7 separate regions of the Homo sapiens genome follow, and all the other regions are linked to region 1. The links are contacts of gene promoters, found by promoter capture Hi-C in blood cells and fetal thymus (Javierre and others, 2016). All regions are on one chromosome and are shown on one strand. Each heading gives the region's core, a stretch centred on a gene start or on the middle of the fragment in contact. The rest is flanking DNA. Distances are from core to core; before and after follow the strand shown.

The links. Contacts are between HindIII fragments. The CHiCAGO score rates a contact against its expected background, and 5 or more counts as called.
Region 2: a fragment that was not itself captured here is called in contact with the fragment with the promoter of VANGL2 in region 1 in 1 of 17 cell types (M2 macrophages); the score reaches 5.6 in M2 macrophages.
Region 3: a contact is called between a fragment that was not itself captured here and the fragment with the promoter of VANGL2 in region 1, in 6 of 17 cell types (M2 macrophages, fetal thymus, M0 macrophages and 3 more). The highest score is 7.6, in M2 macrophages.
Region 4: the fragment with the promoter of CASQ1 here is called in contact with the fragment with the promoter of VANGL2 in region 1 in 1 of 17 cell types (M2 macrophages); the score reaches 5.0 in M2 macrophages.
Region 5: a contact is called between a fragment that was not itself captured here and the fragment with the promoter of VANGL2 in region 1, in 12 of 17 cell types (fetal thymus, total B cells, naive CD4 T cells and 9 more). The highest score is 14.0, in fetal thymus.
Region 6: a fragment that was not itself captured here is called in contact with the fragment with the promoter of VANGL2 in region 1 in 3 of 17 cell types (total B cells, naive CD4 T cells and naive B cells); the score reaches 6.1 in total B cells.
Region 7: a contact is called between a fragment that was not itself captured here and the fragment with the promoter of VANGL2 in region 1, in 1 of 17 cell types (naive B cells). The highest score is 6.0, in naive B cells.

Annotation. Positions count from the first base shown.
Region 1 is chr1:160,399,010-160,402,060 of GRCh38, reverse strand. VANGL2 (VANGL planar cell polarity protein 2) reads right to left here and starts at 1,497. Exons shown (of 8, transcript NM_020335.3): 1 at 1,192-1,497. All of the region lies in intron 3 of LOC105371466 (a long non-coding RNA gene), which reads left to right. The HindIII fragment of the contact is 3,661 bases long and covers 1-3,051 here.
Region 2 is chr1:160,158,609-160,161,659 of GRCh38, reverse strand. ATP1A4 (ATPase Na+/K+ transporting subunit alpha 4) reads right to left here. Exons shown (of 22, transcript NM_144699.4): 5 at 2,524-2,658; 6 at 2,134-2,251. Among named protein-coding and RNA genes, the nearest start is that of ATP1A4, 8.5 kb to the right of the region's middle. The HindIII fragment of the contact is 1,678 bases long and covers 763-2,440 here.
Region 3 is chr1:160,628,047-160,631,097 of GRCh38, reverse strand. The region is part of intron 3 of SLAMF1 (signaling lymphocytic activation molecule family member 1); the gene reads left to right. Among named protein-coding and RNA genes, the nearest start is that of SLAMF1, 17 kb to the left of the region's middle. RefSeq lists an enhancer at 1,349-1,438. The HindIII fragment of the contact is 6,126 bases long and covers 1-3,051 here.
Region 4 is chr1:160,189,156-160,192,206 of GRCh38, reverse strand. It overlaps CASQ1 (calsequestrin 1), which reads right to left and starts at 1,632. Exons shown (of 11, transcript NM_001231.5): 1 at 1,177-1,632. The coding sequence starts at 1,455. The HindIII fragment of the contact is 15,704 bases long and covers 1-3,051 here.
Region 5 is chr1:160,603,592-160,606,642 of GRCh38, reverse strand. No RefSeq gene overlaps it. Among named protein-coding and RNA genes, the nearest start is that of CD84, 26 kb to the right of the region's middle. The HindIII fragment of the contact is 1,383 bases long and covers 784-2,166 here.
Region 6 is chr1:160,583,296-160,586,346 of GRCh38, reverse strand. No RefSeq gene overlaps it. Among named protein-coding and RNA genes, the nearest start is that of CD84, 5.3 kb to the right of the region's middle. The HindIII fragment of the contact is 314 bases long and covers 1,239-1,552 here.
Region 7 is chr1:160,554,316-160,557,366 of GRCh38, reverse strand. All of the region lies in intron 2 of CD84 (CD84 molecule), which reads left to right. The region is part of intron 1 of CD84-AS1 (CD84 antisense RNA 1); the gene reads right to left. Among named protein-coding and RNA genes, the nearest start is that of CD84-AS1, 19 kb to the right of the region's middle. The HindIII fragment of the contact is 6,836 bases long and covers 1-3,051 here.

The sequences.
Region 1 (3,051 bases), core at 248-2,747:
CCTAAACCCAGGCGAGGCCATCCACGAAGTCTCAAAATCCTGCAGACAGCCTTCTTTTCGGGATTTTTGCCAGGAAAATCTGCCTGCAGAGTCTAGAGGTACCCCCGACACACACTCAGAAACATACATACCAGCTAAGGCAGGCACACACATTGATACCCATCAACACAGGTTACACACAAGAGAACACAGATTCACACCCCTTCCCAGTACACAGGTGCACACACACCTATCCACATACACTCCATTCTGCTCTTACACACCCACCTTCCTCAGTACCTACACACCTCTTTCCCGTGAACCCCTCTCCCAGTACACACACATAGACATACACGCCCTCCCCTAAGTATACATATAAACACATATCCAAACACACAGCAGATGCATGGTCAGCCGCTCCCTGGGTGCACACACACTCAAGCACAGAAAAACACCTACACATCCAAACCAGGGGCCCACCTGCAGGAACATGCAGCACGTCAAGGCGTGCACACACACCAAAACAAAGAATCATGCACACGGATCCTCCACCAACCCTTCAAAACTCACTAACGCAGAGCCCACAGTCCCCCAGATGGGTAAATATGAGTGGGGAGAGGGATGCCAGCGCCTGTCCCCTCGGCCCCTATACACAGTCTACCGCCTCCAGCCCCATCCTCGGTCTGTACATACACCCTATCTACTCTGCCCAACCCGCCCCCCTGACTCCACTCTACACCCTTAACGCATACCTGCCTCCGTCCCTCCCCACGCTCCTGAGGGGTGTATGCACCCCAAAACACCCTTGGCTTCCAATACCTCCAGACTCCGATCCTTCCACGCCTCTCCCCCCACCTCCAACACAAGCTCCCCGTCTCCGGCTTCAACCGGCTCCCCTGGGATCATTAAGGCCCCCGCCCGGGCCCAGGAAAGTCCCCGGCTCTCCAGGCCTGGGCTCCGCCCCCTCCCCACGAGCCCCTTCCCCTCCCCAAAGTTGGGGGGGGTACTCCGCTGTGCAGTGGGGAAGCGGACCGGAAGGGGGTTGCCCGGAGTCCAGCCCCCCTTCCCCCATAAGCCACCCCGCTCGCTCTGGGGTCGGGCACCCCCTGGCCCCTTGCATGATTTTCCTCCTTTTCCATTTCTTTTTTTCTCTCTCTTTCTTTCTTCTTTTTTTTTCAAACTTTGCCCGCGCCCCCGCGGCCCGGCACTCACCCGCCGCTGCGAACTGCCGGGTGGGCTCCGCGGGCGCCCCGCTCGGCCCGTCGCCTTTGTATCCGCAGCGCTCCGGGTCGCTCCGAACTCGGCGCTCCTGGACAGGCAGCGCGCGCGATGGGGGATGTTGAGGGGGGGGTTCTTGAGTCTGGTCACCCCCTGCTCCGTCCCAGACCGCTGCCTCTTCCCCCTCAAGGCCCCGGGGGCTGGGGGCCAGGGGGGAATAGGGGGCGCTCAGGCTCCCATGGCGGGACCAAGGATCAAGGAATCAAGGATCAGGAATCAGATCGGGAGCCGGCGGCGCAGGGGGGAGGGGGCGGAGGGGGAGGGGATGAGGGTGGGGGGTGCAGGGGGCGGGGGAGCGCGAGCTCCCGGGTGCCGCCTCCCGGCTGTTCCCACAGCCGCCGCCCCTCCTACCGCCGCGTCCATTGTCTGCGGCCCCGCTCTTCCCGGAGTCGCCGCTCCCCCAGCCCTGCGCCTTCAGATGCCCAGCGGCCCTCCCCGATCCTGGGAATCCGCGGTGGGGCTGACACTCGGGTCCCGAACGGTGGGCAGGGGAATGCCTCGATTCTTGGACTTGGCCCAGCCCGCAGTCCCTCCTGGGGCTGTCTTCCTGGACCCCTCCTGTCGGAGAAGGAGCCCCCAGATCCCTGGGGCTGGCCATATTCTCTTTAGGGCCACGGACCCGACTACACAAAATCCAATGGAATCTGGGACGTGGGAAGATTGATTTTTTTTTTCCCCCTAGGGGTCCGAGAAGGGAGGGTCATCCCTGATTTTAATTAGTGGCGAGAGGCGCACGCCTCTTCCCATGCATACGGGGATTTCCCTGACACCATCACCACCATATCCCCTCCTTCCAAAAATAATTTAATTACTTGGAGTTCTAGCTGCGAGCAGCGACCGCCCCAGTCAGTCTGGGACGCTCCCTCATTAACACATTTTTCCTCCCCTCTGGTTTGAGTGTTGGGATTAATTACAAAGGGAACCCTGCCTTAGGGAAGAAGGGGAGGAGGAAAAGACGCGGGCGCCTGGGAGTTTGAATGGCAGAGGAGAGGGGGCCTTCTCCCAGGAAACCTCCAAGAGGAAAAATGCCTTGGCCAGTTGGGTCCCCAACCCCAAGCAGGCAGATTGTCCATCCCAGGAGTTTCAGATACTTTAGAGTTGAAGGTGCCACACAGGGATTGTAGGATCTCACAAAATATCCTACACGTTTGGGGCATTTGTGCCTCCCAGTATGCCAAGAAACCAGTTAGGGTTCTTTTACATGTGACCCTACAAGAGTGAACCCACACCGTAAAAGCCTGGGCTGTGGGAAGTCCATGTTCCCCTTGGAGTAAGTGAAAGCAGTATTCAATTATCATTAATGTTATTGCCGTGCAACCCGCCACTTAGAGTAGTATCATTTCAAAAGCATCTTCACATACTTCTCCCTAAGCAGGCCAAGGCCTTTTCAATATCTCAGCCTCCTTCAGTTTCCAATCCTGGCACCTGCTTGAACAACCCTGTGATTAAGGAATCCCAGAGAAAGAGACTCCCAGCCTCTGTTCCTCACTTGTTTGGGAATTTTTGCTCCTCCCTGATGAAAACTATTTCCTGAGACCTAATCTCACCCCTTTTGATGGTTCATTCTAACCTGTCCAAAGATGAGGACAGAACCAACTATGCTGCATTGTTCAAAGATGCAGAACAGTAAAACACACTTCCTTTCTCCTTTGCCCAAACTCTGTCTTTCCTCATCCCCTCCTCCAGTAGTATGGGTAAGCAGGTGACTCAGCATCAAGACTACATGAAATATGCAGAATCATCATTTCAGGTACCCAAGTCCCTGCATGCGTCCAGGCACTCATTCACCTTGTG
Region 2 (3,051 bases), core at 352-2,851, 240 kb after region 1:
GAGGAGTTTCCTATTTTGGGCCGGGTGGAGGAGGGTGGGTAGTGTATGGTGTCACCTACATATATCTTGTGTCATGGTTTAGTCTAGTTCTTCTATTTTATTCCTTCTGCTATGGTTTCCTCACACTTGGAGAAACGGGATTTAATAATTAATCTCAGTGTGTCTAGAGATGGGGTTGGGTTGATGTCAACCTCAGGGAAGGCTGAGAAGGCCAAGCATCCAGCACCCCAGGCCAGACTGGCTTCTTCATACACCTTCCATGTATTGCCAGAGAAATAGCTTGGGCTCCCTTGAAGATGCATGAGAACCCAAAGAGAAGTCTGTGCCACAGCCATGTCAAGGTCTACGGTGATGAGACATGGGAGGCAAGGGTAAAGGTTAAAGTTATGCTACTAATTTGCAAATTGGTCTAAGGCAAAGGTTAAAAGTCTAGGGTAAAGGTTAAAGGGCAAATTGATCTAGGGTAAATGCTATCGGTCTGTGAATTGCTGAGAAATTCCTCAACTGAAAGTCCTTCCGCCCAGCTCCTTCTACCTAGCTCCACCTTCTTGGCCACATGTTGGGTTTTTTTAGCCTCCTACAAAACCATTTTCTATCTAAACAGACCCTTGCTTCCCAGTCGAAATGCCACCATCCACTTTCCTCCATACCCTTTATCTGAACATATACTTAGCTGATGAAAACCCTACTTTGTAAGGGTAAATTTGGGCAAATTTTTTCCTAAAATCTAATAGTAGACATCTAGTGTTTTTGGGGAAAGCTTGCTAACTTGCTTCTGTCCAATCAATTTTAAAACATTTTTAATATATGTATTTTATTTTCTAGTTGGATTCTTTCTCATAGTCTATTCTGTCTTAACATTACGCTTCTTCTTTAAGGTATTTTCAAATTAAATAGCAATCTTTCAGCACAGAGCAGGGTCTGTGGAAGGAGCACGAGATATGGAGACAGACCTACATTAGAATCCCTGACCCGCCTCCTTTCTATTGAGTTGTACTCTTGGATATGGTGCTTAATTTCTTTGAACCTTAGTCTGCTACATGTAAAATAGGGATAATATCTGGTATTGTGCGCATGTGGGAATTAGAGATAATATTTATAATATTTAACAAATACTATGCATTCAAATAAAAAATATTTCTAGGCTGGGTATGGTGGCTCACGTCTGTAATCCCAGCACTTTGGGAGGCCGAGGAGGGCAGATCACTTGAGGTCAGTAGTTCGAGACCAGCCTGGCCAACATGGTGAAAACCCATCTCTACTAAAAATACACAAAATAACTGGGCGTGGTGGTGGGCACCTGTAATCCCAGCTACTCGGGAGGCTGAGGCAGGATAATTGCTTGAACTTGGGAGGCAGAGGTTGCAGTGAGCTGAGATCACACCACTGCATTCCAGCCTGAGCAACAGAGAGAGACTCTGTTTCAAAAAAACACAAAACAAACAAAAGAACTATTTTTAGATAACCAAACATTTGTTCTTAAGCATGAATAATAGTTTTCAAGTGTGCTCCATGGAGTCTTCAGGCCTCCTTAAGGGGAAAGGGCAAAGGAGAGATTGACAGAATGATGTTCAGTCCCTTTTTATTACCACTTTGCCAGAACTGTCTCCCAGTTCAAGGATTCCTAGATTCTAGGAGCAAAGCCAAAGTTTAAGTGGTAAAGTCTAAGTGGCACCTCTGGTAATTCAAGTTTCCAATGCCAATATCTTCTCTTGGATAGGGGACTAGTTAGAAGTTAGGGCTTACCTTAAGAGAAGAATGACTTAGCAGGGCTGAACAATTTTCCTCCCCTCTGTGCCATTTTCAGCTTAAACAGCATAGTCCATTCACAAGCTAAAATAATAGCTAATAATTGTAGGTCACTTACAATGTATTAGGTCTTGTGCTGGGCATTTTACATATATTATCTCAATTCACACGAAAATCTACAGAGTAACGACTTTTACTGTCATCACTGTGCGAATGTGGAAATGATGACCTTGACCTTTCACCAGAGGTCATACAGCTCGTGATGGAGAAGCTCGACTTTTTACTGGCTCTTACCTACCTCGCTACCTTTAGAAGACAGTTATTAAAATCTTTATGTTTTGGTGCCTGCTTTTGAATCTATGCTACTTATGGTTCGATATTCACCTTCCACACAGTTGGTGGAAAAGAAGCAGATGTTTCGGGTCTCCAGAGGGTTCTCATGGGTGAAGTCAGGGGAGCGGCTCTGGGGTTCTGACTCCCCAGTCAAGGATGAGTTGTCCACCTGGGATGGGAGAGGGGACGCGTTGTAAGGTGAGCATAGGAAAAAAGGCAGATTTATTTACAAAAATAGTATGTCTTCATCTGGTCACCAACATCATCACTGACAGACTGAGAGAAACAAATTTACACATCTGTTGTCTCTAACATCAAATCTGCACTTGTAACTTCTCAAGATTCTGAGTAATAAGCTTATACTTTCTCTAACGGCCCAGGTGTCTACCCTGCCATGAGATCACGCTTGGGTCCCTCACATAGCTTTCGGCATCCCCTCACCTTACATCCTTGTGCAGAGATAAGCCGGAGGTCAGCAGGGACTCGGTCTCCACCCTTGATTTCCACCAGGTCTCCCAACACCACCTCTTGTACATTAATTTGCATCTTCTCTCCTCCTCGAATTACCAGAGCTTGCTATGAGAGGATAGTGCAGGATCATTTCCAAAACTTTTGGCTTTCCTCATCCCACTCTTAGCCTAAAACCTTCTGTTATTGGTCTCCCTCCTCCTTACTCCCCTTTCTTACTGTCACCCACCACATCATTCTTGAAGGTGTCTTTGGCAGATTGCAAATTCCCATGATGCTGTTTGCAGGGCCCTTTGCAATGTGACTTTGACGCTCTTCCCATTAAGAGGTGGAGTCTATCTCTCTACCCCTAAACCTGGGCTTGACCACGTGACTTGCTTTGGCCCATAGAATGAATGTGATGGAAAGAGGAGTTTAAAAAGTGCTTTCAGGCCGTGACTGGTGGCTCACACCTGTAATCCCAGCACACTGGGAGGCCGAGGTGGGAGGATTGCTTGAACC
Region 3 (3,051 bases), core at 361-2,860, 230 kb before region 1:
ACACAAAGATAAAAAAGACATGATCCTTGCCTTAAGGCAGAAGACAGCTGTATAAGTAAACAATGATCCGAGATTAGACAGTGTGACGGATGTAAAATGGAAATATATGCAAGGCAACAAACAGGAGGGAATTATTAACACTGTCTCGGGGGATTAGAGAGAGCATCCCAGAGAATGTGACATAAACTGGGTTTTAAAAATAAGTAGAAATTACCCAAGCTGATGAAAGACATTCCAGGCAGAGGGAGGAGCAGATACAGCTGGGTCTTGCTCTGTATTATCTTGTAGGTGATAGGAACTAATAAAGAGTTTTAGATAGAGGAGTGACACCATCAGTCTTGCTTTTCAAAGAGGAACTCCAGTAGTATAGAGAACAGACTGGGGCAGGGAAGTGGGGAAGAAAGAGAAACCAGTTCCTGGGGGCCATTATTGCAGTCATCCATCAAAATGATGGGACCCGAGCCAAAGCAGCAACTGTCAGTTAACAAAGACATTTTTCCTAGGGCATACAAAGGAAAACCCCAGCCTTGGGATGAAAGGGTGGGGTCCGAGGGTTTATTAGAGGTTGCTTTGCCATCTGTCATCAGGACAGTGATTTTAAGACATTTTTCATTTTCATTAATGAAAACCTCACAGCGGTTAATGGTGTGATGAGACGGAATGCAATGTGATGTGAGCACTGAATCTTGACAGGACTCACTTAAGCGAAACTGTGCAAAAACTTATATGTTCCTTGAAATCTTTTTCTTTAGGTGACATTTGTTCAGGTCATGTATTCATCCTTGTTCCAATTGCCATTTCAGTGTGTTAATGTCTATCATAATGAAGCATCTTTATTGCAAAGTCCAATTCTTAGGGTGCTATGAAGTACTCTGGCTAGGTCATGTGAAGCCAGTGGATGTGGGTCAGCTGTGGACAGTGTGTGACTTGCTGCCATCCTCGATGACTGTATTCTGAAATAGATATGGCTGTGCTAGAATGAAGGAATCTAGAAAGGAATGCCCCTGGAAGCTCATCTTGAAGAGAGGATCTTTTTCAGCAGATCAGCAAACCGCTGGCTCAGCACCTCTGAGTTAGCTCAGTGAAAGAAAAGGCTGACGCCTGCCAGTGAGCTCCGGAGGCTTCCCCTTTCTAACAAGGTCATTTCTTCAAATAGGGAGTTCCCATTGTTTCAGAGTCACTTAGATGTTCCAGGCACTAAGACAGGTCTCTCTCTAGGGTCTTCCCAATTTAGCGAGCGTAAAAACAATGGTGGAAAGGAAAAACCTGGAAACTTTGCACAGCCCAGAGCCTGGTCATGGGCCACACCCGCTATAAGGGAAGCTGAGACACATAGCTCCTAGCTGAGCAGCTACATGCCCAGAAAAGACTCGTATTACCACGAAAGCATGAGCGCAATCTCACTGGAGCTAGTAGCCTCTGCAATGCTGGGTGGGATAGGCAGGTTGTAAGTGATTTTTCTGGAAGCTGTGAACTCCGTAAAAATGTTTACTTGGATGGTCCCAGAACTTAAATTAGTATATGGTTCATGAGGATCCTTCCCCACCCCCAGTTCTGAATGGAAACTGCCACGAACAAGAATGTATCTCTTGAAGATGGCAGCCTTTGCTGACAGAACCACATGAAAGGCAGGAAGGAGATCCGGCACGCTCCCACCGTTACGCTAACGTCGCAGTATCTCCTAGGTGAACTGCATTTGTTTCTCAGATTCTTTTTAGTTTTCTTTTTCATCTTCCCTAAAAAAAATATTAATAATAAGATTTTGGGACTTGAGAAGAGAGAGAGAGAGAGAGACACGCTTCTGTGTTTCTGTGACAACACTTTCAGAGACAAGAAAAAAAACGCCCTCTGGCTTTTTCCTTGGATGTGTGACTGTCTGCCAAGTTATCACGTTTAAACCACAGACAATAGGTGGAGAGGGCCCAGGGTGGAGACTCGAGCAAAGCACTCTTCCCAAATGGCATGTGAGTTATTGACCAGCCTGCTCGGCCGCCTCTAAGAGCCTCGGGAGTAGGGGGAGTTCCAAACCTCTGGTTCAGAAATGTTCAGGTAGCATTTCTTTGTGAATGAAGGAGTCAGGAGCTTCTAGACCCCAAGACAACTTTGATTTCTCAGCATCACCATCCAGAGAGGCCTCACTACATGACTGAGCAAAGAGAAGAAGAGCTGGAGCTTCTGCCACAGGAAATGGTGGTTTGAAAATGGGAGCACAGGTGAAGCGCCGATGGCACAGACACACACTTGCCTCCTGGCTCCATCTTGTTATTGTAAAGTATAAGCCAAGTGGGTCACTTCTCCTTCCCTTTGATTCCTGCCTTGGGCCATTCAGCAGGTGACCCTGCATTCCTTCTGGTAATTTTTAAACAGAAAGCTACGTGACAGTCTTTTTCTAGATCCATTTTTGTGGACTCTCATTTAATTTAACTTAGTTCATCGAGTGCATATTGAGTGCCCTCCTGCCCTATATTGTTTCCGGTGGAATGGAGGATACAAATAAAGAATAAGGTACAGGGCCTACCTTCATGGAATTTGCAATCAAAGTGGGACTTCTACATCTTACTAGCTAGAAAAATATAATATTTAAAGAAACATATTATAATCAAGGAACTGCTACTAGAATTCCTCTTTGAAAAGGAATTGTATTTGTTTATGATAGTACCTTAATAAATGCTAGAAGGCAGGTGGAGACCCCCCAGGAATCTGGGTGTGGGTTGGATGGTTCTGTATGAGAATGGAGGAAGATGATACTTGTGCAGAAATGGGAAGAGAAAGAGAGAGTCTGAACCTGCTAGGTGGTGAAAGCTGCCTGGTTCACAATGGAATTTGCTCCCTGGGACCCTTCAATCTTCAGCAGAGAACTTAAACCCACAAAATTATTGGTGTAAGTTTTTAAAAAAAAGTTTTTTTGGTTTGTTTGTGGAAACTGATTGTATTAGTCCGCTCTCATCCTGCCAATAAAGACATACCTGAGACTGGGTGATTTATAAAGGAAAGAGGTTTAATTGGCTCATAGTTCCACATGGCTGGAGAGGCCTCACAATCATGGTTGAA
Region 4 (3,051 bases), core at 383-2,882, 210 kb after region 1:
ATCAGGGCCCAACTTTCCCCTTTCGCACTCTACTTCAGCCTGTCCTTAGGCTGTGGACAGTCACACCTGGAGGTCCCTGCCCCCATAAGCCTTCCAGCTTAGCGTTCAACCCTGATTTTCTCTGCTGTGGGCACAGCTTGCAGCTCTACCCCCACTCAGCACAGACTCAGGTACTGTGATTCTCAGAGGGGTGGGGAAGGGAGGCGGTTGGCAGGTGGATGGCCAGGGATACTGAGCACTCAGGATAAAAATACTCGGCTCATTAATCAGATGGCAGGTTCTAGCACCCAGCAGGGGTGCACAAAATGAGAGCCTGTGGTTCTGGTGTCTCACCCTGAAATGCTCCAAGCTCTGGACAAGCTGAGGCCAGAGAAGGGGCCACAGGAGCTTGGACAAGAAAACTCACATCCCATTTCCTAAAGGTGTGTGTGTATGAACACATTCCCAAACATAGGTTTTTTTTCTTTTCTTATGATAACTTCTTTCTCCTTTGGGCCTGAAGTCATTTTGGAGGTGAGGAGACTTTTCCCACAAAAAGAAGATTGGGGAAGACATTCTGACACCTCCTGCAACCATAAGAATTTTCCAGTGAGGGCATCCAGCTTATCCAATGGAGACAAATGGGGAATTAGGGAGGGGGAAGGAAGAGAGAGGGGACTGGGAGTCCAATGGGAGGCATGATCTCTAGGAGATATTTAAACATGGCATGCAAGTATCATAACATTTACATTTACACTCAGTTTGGATCTCTTTGGGGTGCAGCCCCTGAAGTATGTGGAGAGGACGTGTTCTGGCTAAGCAGATGGGTGGGGTAGGGGAGTGCAATATACACTGCTGTTCTCCCCTGGCCCTCCAAGTACCTCCCTTTTTCACCCTCAGTGTCCTAGCCAAACCTAAGTCAAATACTACCAGCCTCCTATAGCAGGGAGGGGAGCTCTTCCTGCAGCACCCCTGCTAAAGGTTTCCTGACGCTGATAGTACTTTTGGGTTCCTGAGACTCTGTTTCTCATTTGACTAAAGCCACATGCCACTTGCATCCTGTTGGTCAGGACAGGGTTCCTACCACACTGCCCCTCACCCCCAGATCCCATCCTCAAAGAGCTACATGGGTGTAGGATAGGGGATTCCGGAGAGGGGCTAGACATGCTCTGCAGGCCTGCAGTGCCCCCAACTCACCTCCAGGATCAGCTCCTCCATCTCAAATTGTCTTTGTGAGGCCTTGTCATCCTCGGGGGGTTCATGGTAGAGGAGTGCCAGCACCTCATACTTCTTGAACACATTCTTGTAGTTCTTTGCATTGACATTGATCACACGGTCCACACCATCGTACTCAGGGAAGTCCAGCCCTTCCTGCCCCTGTACCCCTGACTTGGGTGTCCCTAGCACCAGCAGCAACAGCAGTGCCAGCCGCAGACCCGGCACAGCTCTGGGCCCCATCCTGTCTGTAGCACTCATGGAGGTAGTGGGATCTGGGTTGGCTCTCCTGGTCCAGAAGAGGTTAGCTGGGGTAGGGAGGGGCCCCTGGGTCCCAGATTCTGAGTTAGGGGCTCAAGTGGGAGGGGGGATTGGGGAATGGCCCAGAGCAGTGGACAGAGGGCACTGCTGGGTCCTGGAGAAACTGCCGACAGAGCCAAGGGAAAAAGGGTCAGGTGGAGGAATAGGAGCAGGGGGCGGGGAGGGAACCGGAGCTGCCCCCTGAAATTGGCACCCCTCAGTCCCCACCTGGTCCTGTCTAAATATGTCTCCATGGTTGGCAGGAGAGACGGATAACCTTCTGAGGCCAGGACAGCTCCATGCGGGCCGGAATCCTCCCACCTCCTACACTTCTACCCCAGGCTCCCAGGGGCTCCTTCCCTCCCCCTCCTCCAGTGTCCAGGGCACCTCAGCCCCGGTCCCCACACTGGCCTAAGAGCTCATCGCCATATTAAGAAAGGAAAAGGAGAGATGCCGGAGCTAAAAATAAGACCAGATGAGTCGGAGGTAAATGAAGCTGGGGCTGGGGGAGGGGAGGTATAAGGGTAATTAGGGTGGGCCGAGGGTGGGGCAAGGGTAATTAGAAGTTAAATGCAGTGGAGAGGAGGAGCTAACTGGGTCAGAGGCTAAATTGATAATATAGGACAAAAGGGGGACAAATGTGGTATTGGCTCTATGTCCTAAAGCCTGGGAATCTTCTGTAGGTGAAGTCTGATTCTGATTCTTTGATACTATGTAGGAGAGTGGGGCGATAAAAGTGCAAGCCAGGCTGCAGGAAAGAGACCCCCTCCACTTTCTTTTAAAGAACCAGGACCAAGGATGAGGTCATTCTCTGAATAAAAGATGGAGCCGCGTCCAAGACTGGCAACCTGGCTCAGCTCCAGCCAGTTTCCTTTGCTTCACTCAGCACTCCTAACTTGGGAATGCAGGGAAGGACAGGGCTGGCCCAGATCCTGTCCTGTAGAGATGTGGGTTTGGGGTTTCTCTGCCTATAAAGCCCACAATGAGAAGGGGTCTGTCCTTTGGTTGCCACCTGTGTGTGCACTCCCTACCCTGATCCTATGGGACTCGGTTTTCTGGGGCACAGTGGGAAGGGAGGTTTTCCCAGGCTGCATGCTTCCAAGGAGAGTGAATAGCTACTATTTATTCCCATGTCTTTGACAAGACAAAGAGGATCAGGTATTGACACCAGGGCAAAAAAAAATTAACATTAGGCAAGCATGAAGAGGTGAACCCTGTGCCCTGAACCAAGACTGATGATTAATTCTGTGCACCCGAGATCCAAAGCAGAGATGGGCGGGTAGGGGCTTAAACTTCTGGATCCAGCTTGGGGGGTGAGGACAGAGTAGTGAGTTTAACTCTGGATACGTAGGAAGGAAGGATCCTCTTCATGGCCCTCCAGGGTTCTTACTATGCACAGGTAAACTGAGGCATGAGGGAGACCATAGAGGGTCAGATCAAAGTCACATGCTGCCACTGCACCCTGAGGTATCTCTGATTCTAGAGGGACAGTGGTGTTTTTTTTGTTTTGTTTTGCATCCAGGGAGGGTCATGTAATTATGTTAGCAGAATAACTTT
Region 5 (3,051 bases), core at 226-2,725, 200 kb before region 1:
GGAGAAGAATTTAACTTTACCTAGAGCTGAAATGAATTTAGAGAGCCAAGCAAAATACAAAAGTAGAAGAAGCAGTGGGAAGAGCCCTACAGGCACTCCTGGTCCCCCAGGAAGTCCAGGGAAGTCATTTCTGACTTTATCTCACAGGGTTCCTTGGGGAGGGCTGCCAGTGGGATTGGGGAAGGGCCACAGGGAGAAGGAAACTTCCAGCTGAACTTTGTAATAATTTTGACTGAGTACGAATTGTCCTGGTCAGGATCTGTGGAGATGAATAGAAAGTGCAGATATGAGCACAGAAGCCACAGCAGGCAGGGAGGGGTGAGGCCTGAAAGCCCTGCTTGCCTTCTCAGCAGAGAGGCTAGTATCCCAGGGCAACATCCCAGCCCTGCATACCAGAGGCTTGGATATAAATTTGGCTCTTTGGGGAGCATGGCAGGAGTGAGACTGGCCTTGCTGGCTGTGTGGGAGTGGGGAGAGGCCTGTCACCACTGGCTTTCCCCCACTTCCCTGGCTACCTGTACAAAGCAGCAGAGGCAGCCATAATCCCCCTGGGAACATAACTCCATTGGCCTGAGAACCACACCCCCATACCGCACAGTTGCCACAGCAAGCCCTGTCCAAGGATAGTCTGAGCTCAGACATGCTCAACTCTGCCCCCACCTGATGGTCTTTTTCTGCCAGCCCTGGTAGCTGAAGACAAAAGACATAATCTTGTGGGAGCCCTATGGCCCTCCCATCACCTGAGAAACCCAAATACTTATCCAGGTGACCTTAGGGCAAGCTTGTATTCCCCCGTACTGCTGCAGCTGATGCTCTCTTGAAATCGCCACCTTCTGGCTGGAGGCCAATCAAGTCAAGCCATTATAGCAACTCATAACAAAATAGCCCTGCTCCAAGGAAGGAGAAAACAACAGCTAATTCCACCACTTGTAACGTCCTGGCTAACCAGAGGTCCTGAGTCTGTCCATGTGACAACTTCACTGTTAGCATAACCAGCATTTGAGAAAACCTGTGCACTAAACAAAACTACAACCAAGGACTCTCACAGAATCCACTTCACTGCCCTGCTACCTTCACTGGAGTAGGTGCTCGTATCCGTGGTTGAGAGACCTGAAAATAGATCACAACACAGGACTCTTTGCAGACACTCCCCAGTACCAGCCTGGAGCCTGGTAGGTCCACTAGGTGGCTAGACCCAGAAAAGCAATAACAATCACTGCAGTTCAGCTCTTGGGAAGCCCCATCTGTAGGGGAAAGGGGAGAGCACCACATCAAAGGATCACCCTGTGGGACAAAAGAATCTGAACAGCAGCCCTTGAGTCCTAGACCTTTCCTCTGACATAATTGACCCAAATGAGAAAGAACCAGAAAAACAATTCTGGCAATATAATTAAACAAAGTTCTATCACACCACCAAAAGATCACACTAGCTCACCAGTAATGGATTCAAACCAAGAAGAAATCTCTGAATTGCCAGAAAAAGAATTCAGAAGGTTGATTATTAAGCTACTCAAGTAGGCACCAGAGAAAGGTGAAAACCAACTTAAAGAAATTTTTAAAATAATACAAGATATGGACAAAAACACTGTAAAGAAATAGATATTATAAATAAAAAACAATAAGAACTTCTGGAAATAAAAGACATGCTTAGAGAAATGCAAAATACACTGAAAAGTTTTAACAATAGAATGGAACAAGTAGAAGAAAGAACCTCAGAGCTCAAAGACAATGCTATTGAATTAATCCAATCTAACACAGACAAAGAAAAAAGTTTTTTTTAATGAACAAAGCCTCCAGCCAATTTGGGATTATGTTAAATGACCAAACCTAAGAATAATTTGTGTTCCTGAGGAACTCAAAGAACACCCAGGAAATTCATTGCAAAAAGATAATTACCTAAACACACAGGTTTAGGTAATCTAAACCATCAGGTTATCTAAAGTCAAGATGAAGGAATGAATCTTAAGAGCTGTGAGGCAAAAGCATCAGGTATCCTATAAAGGAAAACCTATAAGATTAACAGCAGATTCCTCAGCAGAAATCCTACAAGCTAGAAGGGATTGGGGTCCTATCTTTCATATCCTTAAACTAAGTAATTATCCTTACTTTAGCCTCCTTAAAAGAATAATTATCAGCCAAGAATTTTGTATCTGGCAAAACTAAGCTTCATATATGAAGGGAAGATAAAGTCTTTTTCAGACAAGCAAATGCTGAATGTATCACTACCAAGAGAATTTGCCACTACAAAGTCAGCACTATAAGAACTGCTAAAAGGAATTCTAAATCTTGAAACAAAACCTCAAAATACACCAAAATAGAACCTTCTTAAAACATAAATCTCACAGGACCTATGAAACAATAACACAATGAAAAAAAAAACCAAGCAATTCAGGCAACAACTAGCACAATGAATAGAATAGTACCTCATATCTCAATACTGACATTAAAAGTAAATGGCCTAAATGCTCCACTTACAAGATCCAGAGTGTCAGAATGAATAAGAATTCACCAACCAAGTATCTGCTGTCTTTAAGAGACTTGCCTAACACATAAGGACTAACATAAACTTAAGGTAAAGGGGTGGAAAAATATATTGCATTCAAATGGACACAAAACTGAGCAGGAGTAACTATTCTTATATCAGACCAAACAGACTTTAAAGCAAGAATAGTTTTAAAAGACAAAGAGGGACAATCCATAACAATAAAAGGACTAGTCCAGCAGGAAAATATTACAATCCTAAATATATATGCATCTAACACTGGAGTTCCCAAATTTATAAGACAATCACTGCTAGATGTAAGAAATGAAATAGGAACACAATAATAGTGGGGGGCTTCAATACTGCACTGACAGAACTAGAAAGCATCAAGACAGAAAATAAAGAAACTATACCCTAGAATAAATGGACTTAACAAATACTTACAGCACATTCTACTCAACAACAACAAATATTTACAGCACATTCTACTCAACAGCTGTGAAATATATATTCTACTCATCAGAACATGGAACACAGGCCAAAAATCAAGTCTCGATAAATTTAAGAAA
Region 6 (3,051 bases), core at 146-2,645, 180 kb before region 1:
CTAAACTTTGCTTGACACTACAAAAATTGCATGTACTCTTTCATTTCCCTTTTAATTATTTGCAGAATTAAAAATGTTTTCATATTTCTCTTATTCAAACCCTTCGTTGTTTTGCTTTCATGACATCAACTCTCCTGTTTTCCTCCTATTGCTTTAATAATTCTTTCTTTCTTCTCTTTTCTTTCAGTTATAGTTGTTTTCCAGAGTTTTATTCTTATGTTTTGTTTTTTAATTTACCCTTTATCTAGTATAGAGAATTTTTCAACATGGAATTAAAGATAATTATGAATCAGGTACAACTGAAGACTATGAAAAGACTTGGAAATGAAAGCGTATTACCAAAGTTTAAAACTCAAGCAAATAGCTGAAAACTGTAAACATAGCTGAGAACCCATGTTTGGAAGACATTCTATAGGGTGTCTATAAGGAACTCTATCAGTATGTAAAGCAAGAAGACAAAGAGAAAATCAGGAGATATTAATTCAGCAATATAGAGGATAGCTTTAAATATTTAGGAGGACTTTTAGGAAGAGCAAGTAGAAAGGCCAAAAAGGAAGCCATAATCAAAGACACAGAAGAAAAATTCCCTTTGATAAAGAAAGATTTGAACCATCAGACTGAAAATACAACTGATTCCAGCCAGAAATATGCCATGCAAACACACCAGGACACATCCTTGTAAAATCTTGAATTTCTGTGATAAAGGGAAAATCTTAAGTGTTTCCAGATGGAAAAGTTAAAGAACAAGAATAAAACTAGTATATGTTTTCTTGTTGCAAACCTAAATGCTGGAACCAATTTAGAACTTTCATTTGGTTCCTTTCTGGGTTTTTATTTCTGTCCAGAAATACCAATCTCTTCAATCTCAGACTTCAAACATTTATGAAAAATGAAATTTAAAAAGAAAAACTAAAAATGTAAACTTTATTTCTCAATAGAAGCTCCATCAAGTTCAAAACACTTTTGAAAGTGATGATACCAACCATTTAGAACATCCCTGAAGGACTGAGTGTCCTGGATACTTAACTATGTTAATGTAGTATTTTTACATTATTAACTGAACAAAAATGGGTGTCCTTTAAAGATTTTTTAAAGATTAGGAAACAAAAAGAAGTCAGAAGGAGCCAAATCAGGACAGTAAAGTTGATCCTAAAGATTTCCTATTGAAAAATGAGCAGGAGCTTTGTTGTAGAGAAAGACTCTAGCAAAGCTTTTCTGGGCATTTTTCTGCTAAAGCTTTGCCTAACTTTCTCAAAATACTTTCATAATAAGCAAATGTTATTGTTCTTTGGTCCTTTAGAAAGTCAACAAACAAAATGCCTTGAGCATCACAAAAAACTGTTCCAATGACCTTTGCTCTTGACTGGTTCACTTTCGCTTTGACTGGACAGCTTCCACCTCTTGGTGGCCATTCCTTTGATTGTGCATTGTCTTCAGGATTATACTGATAAAACCAGGTTACATCTCCTGTTATAATTCTTTGAAGAAATGCTTCTACAAAGCATTTTCAAAGTGGGATCATCCTGCTTCTTTAAAATTTCCATTGAAAGCTTTGCTCTTGCCTTCAGCTGATCTGAGAGCAACAACTTTGGCACTCATTGAGTGATAAGTTCGCCCAATTTTAATTTCTCAGTCAGAATTGTGTAATTGGTTCAATACATGGAAATCAATAAACGTAATCCATCCCATAAACAGAACCAATGACAAAAACCACATGATTATCTCAATAGATGCAGAAAAGGCCTTTGAAAAAATTCAACAGCCTTTCATGCTAAAAACTCTCAATAAACTAGGTATTGATGGAACATATCTCAAAATAATAAGAGCTCTTTATGACAAACCCACAGCCAGTATCATACTGAATGGGGGAAAAAACTGGAAGCATTCCCTTTGAAAACCAGCACAAGGCAAGGATGCCCTCTCTTACCACTCCTATTCAACATAGTATTGGAAGTTCTGGCCAGGGCAATCAGGCAAGAGAAAGAAATACAGGGTATTCAGATAGGAAGAGAGGAAGTCAAATTGTCTCTGTTTGCAGATGACATGATTGTATATTTAGGAAACCTCATTGTCTCAGCCCAAAACCTCCTTAAGCTGATAAGCAACTTCAGCAAAGTCTCAGGATACAAAATCAATGTGCGAAAATGACAAGCATTCCTATACACCAATAACAGACAACAGAGAGCCAAATCATGAGTGAACTCTCATTCACAATTGCTACAAAGAGAATAAAATACCTAGGAATACAACTTACAAGGGATATGAAGGACCTCTTCAAAAACCACTGCTCAAGGAAATAAAAGAGGACACAAACAAATGGAAAAACCTTGCATGCTCATGGATAGGAAGAATCAGTATCATGAAAATGGCCTTACTGCCCAAAGTAATTTATAGATTCAATGCTCTCCCCATCCAGCTACCACTGACTTTCTTCACAGAATTGGAAAAAACTATTTTAAACTTCATATGGAACCAAAAAAAAGCCCACATAGTCAAGAAAATCCTGGGCAAGAAGAACAAAGCTGGAGGCATCATGCTACCTGACTTCAAACTATACTACAAGTCTACAGTAACCAAAACAGCATGGCACTGGTATCAAAACAGATATATAGACCAATGGAACAGAACAGAGGCCTCAGAAATAACACCACACATTTACTGCCATCTGATCTTTGACAAACCTGACACACACAAGAAATGGGGAAAGGATTCCCTATTTAATAAATGGTGTTGGGAAAGCTGGCTGGCCATATGCAGAAAACTGAAACTGGACCCCTTCCTTACACATTATACAAAAATCAACTGAAGATTGATCAAAGACTTAAACATAAGACCTAGGACCATAAAAATCCTAGAAGAAAACCTAGACAATACCATTCAGGACATAGGCATGGGAAAAGGCTTCATGTCTAAAACACCAAAAACAATGGCAAAAAAAGTTAAAATTGACAAATGGGATCTAATTAAACTAAAGAGCTTCTGCACAGCGAAAGAAACTATCATCATCATCAGAGTGAACAGGCAACCTACAGAATGGGAGAAGATTTTTGC
Region 7 (3,051 bases), core at 154-2,653, 160 kb before region 1:
TGTTGAAAAAGAATGAATGAATAGTATTATTCCCAGGTTTCACAGTGCTTAGCAATTGTGAATGTTCGATTAATATAAGATGATTGAATCAGTTTCTATACCGATGGACAGCATAGCGGAAAGAACGCTAATGTTGGGATTAGGCATACTTTGCCAGCTGTATGATCTTGGGCAAGTTGTTTAACCTCTCTGTTCCAAAGTTTCCTCACTTATAGAATGTAGATCGTAATTGATGGTATTAAATGAGATAATGGTAGTTGAGCTCCCTAGTATAGTGCCTGCCTTAAAGTAAATGCTCAATAACTAGTAATCATTAATTTTTTAATCCTTATCCCTTAAAAAAAATCTCATTATGAAGGACTTCCTAGATGAAGAAGGCTCTGAACTAGGCTTGAATAATGTAGTCAAAGAGCCATACCCAAATGTCAACCCTTTAGAAAATATTTAACTCATTCGAGAACTTTAGCTGAGAAAATAAAGATGGTATTCAATTTTAAGATATTGATTTTTAACCCTTTATATGTTTAATTTTGCCTACCCAATCTTCAGAAAGTCTTCTACCACGTGCAATTAGGACACAGTACAGTAATATCTTAGAGAAAGCTGTACTGTATATACAATAAAATCTGTACCTTATGGGTAGTTAGCTGGGAAAATAAAGAGAAGGAAACTAACATTTATTGAACATCATTTATGTGTTTGGCATTCTAATATCTATTTTAAAAATATATAGACTATACATATTTAAGCACTGTATGCACAAAAAGAGCAAAAGATAATACAATGAGATGTAACTCTCTCTTCTCAGAGGCAGTGGCTGTAGCCAGCTTCTTCTGTGTCTTCCATAGATAATTAATGTGCATACCAGCATAGACAGACAGATAGATGATAGATAAGTAAATAGGTAATTAGAATAATCTTTATCTTCAAAATCTCATTTAATCCTCACAACAATTGTATTTAGGGAAAAATTTTTACCCTCATGTTATAAATAAGGGAGCTGAAGCTCCATGAATCTGTATACCTTCTCCATTATTCCATAGCTAGAGAGCAGTAGAGCCTGGATTCTGAACCAGGTCTCCAGTGGCTTCCACAATCTTGGCTTGGGAGGATGAAGATCTGTCGGCCATGACTCTGACTTTCTCTTCCCAGCATCTTTGTGCAGGCAACACCTCTGTTCCTGCTGAGAAAAGTGAGATGGGATCCTCTTCTTTACCACTGTCCCCTACCTCAACACCTACCCCCAACAATTGGTAAACACCAAGCACTCCCTAGGCATTTTTGTAAATCAAATTTCTAAAGAAACACACACGCACACACACAAAATTTTGTTCACTTTCTACTAATTGATATCGTATCAGTCACTATTATAGTTAATCCAGGTCTGTACCCCAAACTTGTTTTGGGTTTATTCCAAGTCTTCACTAATTCTAATATGGAATAGATCCCTCTAAAAGATTGTTAGGACCAGAATTTCTGGCTAGCTTGGAATCAAACATTTTTACAGCTTCTTACTGTTCATGTTGAGTTCCTTCACAAACGCAAGATAATGGTTCTTATATCTTGTGTCTACACTTCTGAATTTATTGCCTTTCTAGTTGTGCACCAGTTCCTTCTGACTCCTCTATTCCCTTCCTCACATAGCTACAGTGGAAGAAACAAACCCCACCACAGCAACTTTGCTGAGAGGGCGCTGAACTTATTAACTCCAAATGTGGTCATTTTCTTATTCCTGGTAAAAGAAAAGACCTTAACGCTTCCCCATGCCAGCTCCAGTCCTAGCTATCACTTGAATTATTATTGTTCTTTAGTAACCCTTTACTAGCCTTCAACTTTTATAGTTTACTTTTTGATTGCTTAAGTAAAAACATTTTAATGAACTTTTAAAGAAATTATAGCTTTCCACCATGGATAGTTTTTAAAAAATAAAGAAAATATACATACACCAGAAAACAGAATGAAAAAAAATTTTAAAGATTATTTTGGCTGGGTGCGGTGGCTCACACCTGTCATCCCAGCACTTTGGGAGGCCGAGGCGGGTGGATCACGAGGTCAGGAGATTGAGACCATCCTAGCTAACACGGTGAAACTCCATCTCTACTAAAAATACAAAAACAAAATTAGGCGTGGTGGTGGGCACCTGTAGTCCCAGCTACTCCTCGGGAGGCTGAGGCAGGAGAATGGCTTGAACCCAGGAGGCGGAGCTTGCAGTGAGCCGAGATCATGCCACTGCACTCCAGCCTGGGTGACAGAGCAAGACTCCGTCTCAAAAAAAAAAAAAAAAAGATTATTTCATGTAGTTGTGTGCTGATAAATATTTAATTAGCTCTTAATTGGGTGTGTGTATTCATATATATATATAAAATTTATGTTTAGTACAAATTTTATTGACTTGAAGGATGTGTAGCACACAGTTTCATTAATGATAATAAATATATAATAGTCTTTATTGTAAATTCTATATAGAATTTATTTTGCTGAGAGGGCACTAGAGGATAAATTCCAATTATTCTTACAGAATGCTTTCATTGATTTTTGCTAAGCATTTATATCCCTAATCAGCTTATAGTTGTAATTGATGTATGAGTATAGTTCCAACACAAACATCGGTTGATATTTTCATTTCAGTTAAATAATAAGAAAAAAGTGATTCAACAAAGACATATATATTGGAGCTTCATTTGTTTATCAATGACACGAGCGACTTCTTTGCTGAATTGGATAATGGTTTCCAAATACCAGAAGAATACTTCCTATTTTTTGTGCTATTCACAATGTAATGGCTACAGATATTATACAATTTTAAGTTTCATCTGCATTCCTCCATTGCTATCTTAAGTCTAGAGCAACAATCATCAAAACAGTAAATCGAGTCCTAGCTTATAGCAATTGCAAATTTCTGTGGGGTAATACTCCTACCATGGCTGATTTTAAGACATGCAGAATTAGAAAGACAGATACTCTGTTAACAAAGGACAGATACAATAGATGTAGATAACCTCGAGAGCATAGACAGCAGGAAAATGTCAAAAAAAGGATTAGAAAGTGATG